Linked DNA regions of Homo sapiens: region 2 is linked to region 1. Evidence: promoter capture Hi-C in 16 types of primary human blood cells and fetal thymus (Javierre and others, 2016). All regions are on one chromosome and are shown on one strand. The core of a region is centred on a gene start or on the middle of the fragment in contact, and the rest is flanking DNA. Distances in the headings are between cores, read along the strand shown.

Region 1 (3,843 bases), core at 1,046-3,545:
GTTCTACCCCAGGGCCTCAAAATTGGCCCTCATGCTTTGTTCTCTTCTTTCTCTGACCTCCTCTCCTTTCTTCTCCTTTTCCACCAAACTCATCTTCTGGGTTCCCTACTCTTGGTCATCTAGACCCTTTGGTACCTAGTAGCCCACAGGTTTTTTCAGATTTGCCAATGAGTTTTCTTTATTGCAAAGAGGGCTATTGATTTCTACTAGCAATGGAACTTCTAGTGCTTTCCCAGTAATCTCAGGGATGTTGATGTGGGGCCTTTGGGAAGCAGGACCTGAGCATGTGAGTTTCAGTCTCACAGAGAGAGGGTCAGTGAGCGCTGGGAGGGGACTGTGCACTGTCCTCAAGCTGCACACTTTGCTGACCATCTAATAACCTCCTTTATATCTGTATAACTCTTTCCCATTTTCATACTTTTTCGCCTACCATCCTTAGATTCACATATGATCCAAGCAATAAAGCCCTATTTGCAAATGGGAAACTTTTTAATCAGAGGATGAGGGTGACCTGTCCAAGGCCACATAGCAAAATGTATCCTCAGCCATGCCAGGGTCCAACCAACATTGAGAAGCTAGACCCCAACTCACACAGGCACTGAGGAAATTGGGGAAGTTCTCCTTCATCATCGTCAGCAGGCTTGGCTTCTCAATCTTGCCATCACGTCCGGTGTATTTGTGAAACATGTCGATCATGCCTATTATGGACCTCTCAGCTTGAGTGTTGCTCATCTTTGCTTTCAAAAAGCCTTCAGGAAATAAAGACAATCATTTCTTACCTTAGTTTGAATTAAGGTCTCTATGTGGGGGTGTTAGAAGGAGGGCTGAGGACAGAGTAAAAACAGCCCTAAGATGGAGCAGAAGGAACTTGATTTTTTTAAATGTGATGGGATAAGTTGTTCAAAAATGAGAGGGTAGGACCAAGTCTGAGACCCGGCCCATCCTGGCCAGGGCCAAGAAGAGATGCAGGTGGATGGCAGAAGTCCAGCTGTGGACAGTGCTTCAGAGAAGGAGAAGCAGGGAGAGTCGGAGGCCAGCAACACATAGAAGAACTAAGCTGGGACCCCCCAGCCTCAACCAGCACATGGCGGACCCCACTCTTGAAACAGCACCAAATCCATCTCCTCCAGCTTCACAGTCGGGGTGAGAGTCACGGGGGCAGGACAATGGCCTTGGTGATCTGGTGTCTGACCCTCCTCGGCTGCTTCAGGAACCAGACACCGTGGGCCCCACCTTGACTCAAGTGCAAGCCCTGCATGACACAGTGCGTGCAGGCTCCAGGTGCACATGTGAGCGTGGACATGAGTGTGAGCAGGAAACACAGCCCTCTCCCGAGGACAGGGGGCCCTTCCTACATTCCCTTGGGAATGAGAAACAAGAATTGCCTCTGTTACAAGGAACAGAAATAACTCCCTGGTTCTTAAGCTGCTGGATGGGGTGGGAGTGAGGTGGGAGTCGCTTCATGTCTGCTCTTGGGAAATATCTGCACCCTCTGAATCACCAAGGGTTGACCCTGTTTAAATAAAAATGTCTGACTTTCCAAAGCAGATCTTCCAGCCAGTAGCCAGCCTGGGCTGCCCTGCACCCCAAGCCTGAAAAATAAGACAGTGCAGCTCTCATTTCTACACTTTCCAAAGAACCAGAAAAGGACCTTGGCTAACGCATGTGGGCATCTGACAATAAACCCCCAACACCTCTCAACGCAGGAGAAAGCTCCGTGCCAGCAACTGACTAAGAGAAGCCACTCAAAGCTTTCTGAATCTGAGGCCAAGGCCAAGGCCAGAGGCCAAGCCCTGTGCCCAGAGATTGACTGAGAATTTACAGGTCCAAGGCCTGGGGGTTTGGAGAGCCTCCAAAGCATTCACAGGGGATCCTTATCCCTCCTCCCTCTGTGGGGGCAGAGCTGGGGAGGGGATTCAGCAACTGGGATCCCAAAAGGAGAATGAATCCAGGGAGGAAGAAGACAGGAAGGAAAGGGAGGGTCCTGTGCTCAGGTCCCACTGGGGACATTTCCACAGGAGTTGTCTCAGGAGATCCCAAAGGAGCAATGGACAGGTCTGGTTCAGCCACCTGGTTGTACAGACGTGGGCTTTTGGGGTCAAGTGAAGGTCACACAGCCCAGCTAATGGCAGAGCTGGCCTAGACCCAGGCTTCTGAGACTTTGTCCACAGCCCTTTCCCTTCCTACAGGCAGCATGGCAGGCTGGGCACTGGGCACTTCTAGAAAATGCAAAGAGGCAGGTGAGACTTACCAGAACTGGGAAGTGTCACGAGTAGAAGGATGAGTGAGATGTGTGTGTTTGGACAAAGAGCAGTCCTTTATAAGGCTCAGCCTGGCTCTTCCCACGGGTTGGGAGGCCTGGGGCCACCTCTGTCATCTGTTTCTTGGAGGCTTGTCCCATATCAGGTGTGTGGGACACACCCAGGAGGCTGTGCTCAGGATTTCTGGCCAGGGTCCCAGGTCACCAGGTCCCACCCCACCCCAGAGACCTCACCTGGGGCCTTCTCTGGCTCAATCTTGATTTGAGGGTAAGGCAGCGGTACATGTGTAGTAACAGGTCAGGAAATGGGAGAAAAGAGCACTGGGCCTCTGGACCCAAAGAGAATGGAGTTTCAGACTCCCAAAGGCAGCATGGTCTTGTTTATTCCCTCCCCCAGTACTTCCACACATTTGTTGTGACAGCCTGTTCTATGACCCCCACCGCTTACTGAGCGTTTTAATGTCTAGACATCAAGACACCTGCTGCTCTTGCATCCTCCTCAACCCTCCCCTCATAGTCTTAAGAAGCAGGTGCTGCAATCTCTATTTTAGGAAAGGAGAAGTTGAGATGTTCCCAAGTTTACTCAGCTAGTAAACACAACAAATCATCACACGAACAAAGAAAAGCCTGAATCAAATCCTTACTCTTATCCCCTGTGCTATAGGTCTTGGGTTGCATCAGGGTCTGCCCTATGGGAACTCAAAGTCCAGGGAGGGAAGCAGGATTACTTCATTGCTAACCATTGGTCAGCCCCTCACAGAAGCCCTGGATTTAGGTGGGGGGACTGGGGTCAGGGGCCTCACTATCTAGGTTGAGTGGTGGAGTGACCCCCGCCCCCCCCGCCCCATGGAATGAGCCTGGAGGTAGGGAGTGGGAAAAGTTCTTTCCTGCCCCATGGCACTAACTTCCCAGAAAGTCTTCAGTGTTTTTCCTCCTCCTATGCAAAACAGCCTGTGTAGGAGTTGGGAGTTGTGCCCTTGGCTATAATGTGCCCTAACCTGCTGTGGAAAGCCTGAACCAGGTAGGGGCAAGAGGGTTGGGAAGGCACAGGAGTCCCTGGGGCATGGTGAGGAAAAGGAGATGATGAATCACTGAAATGGACTTTTTCTGCTACCCCCTTACAATGTTCCTTGTAGGCCGCAAGAGGTCCTGGTTCATTTAGTGCCAGCCCTTTAAGCACTCTGGGGCTCCATAGAGCTGATGTGATGTCTCCCTAGGTGGGACCTATTTTCTCCACCCATCATCTTTCTTCAACTTCCTTCTCTGTCAGTTCTTATGTAACCAGGGGGACCTGTTTCTCCCTCTCCCAGTTTCCCATATGACGGCAATATTACTTTTAGCGGCAAAAGATACACACACACACACACACGCACACACACACAAACACACACACAAACGCACACATACACACACACACAGACGAATACTACTCAACCATAAAAAGAATGAAATGATGACTTTTGCAGCAACATGGATGGAACTGGAGGCTATTATCTTAAGTGAAATTACTCAGAAAAAGAAAGTCAAACACTGTGCACCCTCATGTGTAAGTGGGAGGTACATCATGCATACAGATGGAGGTA
Region 2 (3,570 bases), core at 921-3,420, 1.3 Mb after region 1:
ATTCACTGTAAGCCACTCCTCTCTTACGTCTTCCCATGGCAAGACTTCTCCCAAAACCTAGCCAACAGATCATGATTCAGCCTGTATAGGAACAGTTCATTGCTCTAGTAGTGGCCCAAGTCATTGTCAGACAACTCTGCTCCTTAGAAAGTTCTTAAGAGCTGGAGTCTGCTTTTTAGAAAGTTTTAAGCATTGATTCCAGCTGTATTACCGGGCATTACACAAATAAGAAACTCAAGGTAATGAAAACACTATGACTTCAGAGACATACTTTCTTTTTTTTTTTTTTTTTGAGACAGAGTCTTGCTCTGTCACCCAGGCTGGAGTGCAGTGGCATGATCTCGGCTCACTGCAACCTCTGCCTCCCGGGTTCAAGCAATTCTCCTGCCTCAGCCTCCCGAGTAGCTGGGATTACAGGTATGTGACACCATGCCCAGCTAATTTTTGTATTTTTAGTAGAGATGGGGTTTCACCGTGTTAGCCAGGCTGATCTAGAACTCCTGACCTAAGGTGATCCACCCGCCTCAGCCTCGCAAAGTGCTGGGATTACAGGCGTGAGCCACCACGCCTGGCCCAGAGACATACTTTCTTGAAACCTTTCATTTCTGAATCCTGACTCTGCCATTACCTAGTAAAGGTACATATCTGTAGGCAAATTGCTTAACAGCCTTAACTTCCTTATCTGTTAAAAGAGGATAATAACTACCTAAAAGGGCTGTGAGGATTAAGATAGCCCATGTAAAGCTCCTGACATGTCATAAGTTTTCAATAAACATTAATTCTTTTCTCTTCCACACCCATAAAAATCCTTCAAGTATTTGAAGACAGTTATTATGTCTCCCATAAGTGTTTCTTTCCAATCCAGCCTTGAATATACCCAGTTCTTCATGAGACTGGCCCATGAGCTCCAGAGCAGGAAGATATAACTTACTCAACTCTAAACACTCCAGTTCCTGGCATAGTGTTGAGAAATAGCTGGTACTCTGGGGATATTAACTAATCAGAACTAAGATGACCTTCACATGCCAATTCCAATTCCCAGAAGTCTTCTCCCTTTGGGAGGATGCTGAGAAATTGTTTGTAGGTGTAAAGTATCAGTATGAATGTTTTTCCCCAAAATTTAGTTCCCTTGTATGTTCCTCGATAATCAGGAAATTCAGAATAAGGTTTTTGCTCAATAGCAATGCATCCCTTAGCTTCAGCTTTCTCATATAATTACCCCCATTCCCACCCCATCTTTAACTTGGTCTGTGTCTTTTATATTTGTTTGCATTGATCTGTCTATTTCTTCCATCCTTTGACAAGGAGTGTTTTAAAACATACTCTATTTTTTAAAAATATCTAAGAAAACCATTGAATCTAATTCTTATTTTATTAAATATTCTCTACTAAGAAGGACCCAGATCTAGGAGACAATTAAAATGTTTGCCAGTTCAGCATCTCAGACTCACTTCTGTTCTCAGCTTGATGATTTCAACATCTCCCTTTCCCCTTTACAGGGAGAACACAGTAATATAGATTATTGGTTTCAAGCTCCTTGTATAGTAAAAATGTCTTTAGAAAGCAAATATCAATCACGTTTTTAAAATAGCACAACATAGGTAAGCAAGGCTTTGCACACCAAGCAAGAATTTTTTTTTTTTTCTAACTCTGCCTCTGGGCAAGGAGAGCAAAGCATTGAAACATCTGAATCAACTGGTATCTCCACTTTTGTCACATGGCTAAATGGGGGCCTTTATTTTTAAACACATGATTGACACCCATCTCTCAGGTTTGGGTCAAATACGGGCCATCTTGTGGGCAGACAGAGGAATCAGATGACTTATGAGGTCCCTGCCAGCACTATGATTTGTCAGACAGAAATGTAATTATGTCCTTAGGTTAAAAAATGGGGGAGGGAAGCCAACACTACCTTGAAGAGCCTTCAAAACTATAATCTGCAAAAGTCAGTAAATGAATCAAGAAACCCCCTCCCCTTTCTTTTGATGCATCTGAAGCTAAGATTTAATTGAAACTGCCTAAAGAAGGAAATAAAATTAAGACAACTGACAACAGAGCAGGGGAGACTGGATTTGGTGGTGATGTCAGGTCATTAGACCCAGAGGGTGTCTCCTTCTTAACTGTGCAATTAGGACCTCAATAAAAGGTTCCAGCTCCTGCTGTCAGCTCACAGCCCGCTGCCCCACGTTCTACCTGCTCTCGCTTGTGAACTAGGTAAGTCCATCTGCTTGAGCATACTTGGGATTTCAGTTGCTGTTTTGCTTATATGTGAGATTGCAAGAGGATTTCAAAGGAAACACACTTTAAGTCTATGTCAACCCCTATTAATAATAATAAACTGGGAGCGCCAACCACCCAAATGCATTCCTTGATTATGGAACTTCTTTGATCATTTTCTTTTTAAAAAAAACATAAATTGTTTAGAAGTCATAGGCATGAATATTATTCAACAAGGCACAGGATCAGATCTCTATTGCAATGAAAATGTAGAAGCATTTAAAGGATGGGAAATGAATGAATAAGGGGTCGGGACATGGAATCATGTCTTCTTGGTTAAAGCATGTTGTTACCACCTGCAAACATAGGGGTTAATTTTCTTGGTGTGACTTATCTTTCCACTAGAAGCTTTGCTAACTTTAAAGGTTATACCCTCCTAACCGCAGGAGGCTAGACTGAGCCAAAGGGAGAGGAGAGCAGATAGACACTCTTGGATGAGGCTGGAAGAATGGGTCCAACTCTATTGGCTTCATTTATGCATTTCAATCCTTATGCTTGAGTTCTCTTATCACCTTCCTTTTGCAATGAAGCTTTCTCTGAGCACATGAATGTTGCTGTTTACTGAAGAGTGGGGTGAATTGTCTCTTCTAATACTTACCTATGCTGGGTCTGATTTCACCACAATGTCTGGTACAATACTAAATCACCCCTGGAGTTCAGATATAATATTTTAAGATACAGAATAGAGCAGGGGTTGCAGTGGAGATGGGGGAGGAACAAAAAGGATAATCTTGGTATCTCCTCCCTGAAGGACCCATCCTGGAAAATGAGCTTTGTTTATTCTTTCTCACAGCCTCTCCTGAGTTTGTAAAGATGCCTCAGCTCCTGAGAAATGTCCTCTGTGTAATTGAGACATTCCACAAATATGCCAGTGAGGACAGTAACGGGGCAACACTGACTGGCAGAGAGCTGAAACAACTCATCCAGGGCGAGTTTGGGGACTTTTTTCAGGTGAGCTTCTCACAGAGCTGTGTAAATTCTTTCCAACTCACCCTTTCTTTATAATCCAAGCAAGATGAGCATATGTGATCCCCATCCATTTTACACCTAGCTAACAGTTCTCAGCACTCACTGTCTCTTGAACAACTATTTTCAGTCTCAGTTCCATACTCTGTGCAATTACTTAGAGAAAAAGAGGTTTTCGTCACTGGGATTATTGCTTCTGCAAAGCTGACTTCTGAAAGGAGTCATAAACCATTATGCATCAAAATGCAACTCACAAGTGTTGTAAATGCTCTTTCTCAGGCATAGCTCTCTGATGAAAAATGGCTTGCAGAACCAATAAGTTCTTGC

The links. Contacts are between HindIII fragments. The CHiCAGO score rates a contact against its expected background, and 5 or more counts as called.
Region 2: the fragment with the promoter of TCHHL1 here is called in contact with the fragment with the promoter of S100A7A in region 1 in 1 of 17 cell types (M0 macrophages); the score reaches 5.1 in M0 macrophages.

The regions. Positions count from the first base shown.
Region 1 is chr1:153,414,972-153,418,814 of GRCh38, reverse strand. It overlaps S100A7A (S100 calcium binding protein A7A), which reads right to left and starts at 2,295. Exons shown (of 3, transcript NM_176823.4): 1 at 2,252-2,295; 2 at 592-749. The coding sequence starts at 732. It also overlaps a transcript of S100A8 not described here. The HindIII fragment of the contact is 2,279 bases long and covers 1,754-3,843 here.
Region 2 is chr1:152,087,664-152,091,233 of GRCh38, reverse strand. TCHHL1 (trichohyalin like 1) reads left to right here and starts at 2,170. Exons shown (of 3, transcript NM_001008536.2): 1 at 2,170-2,214; 2 at 3,071-3,228. The coding sequence starts at 3,091. The HindIII fragment of the contact is 6,885 bases long and covers 1-2,627 here.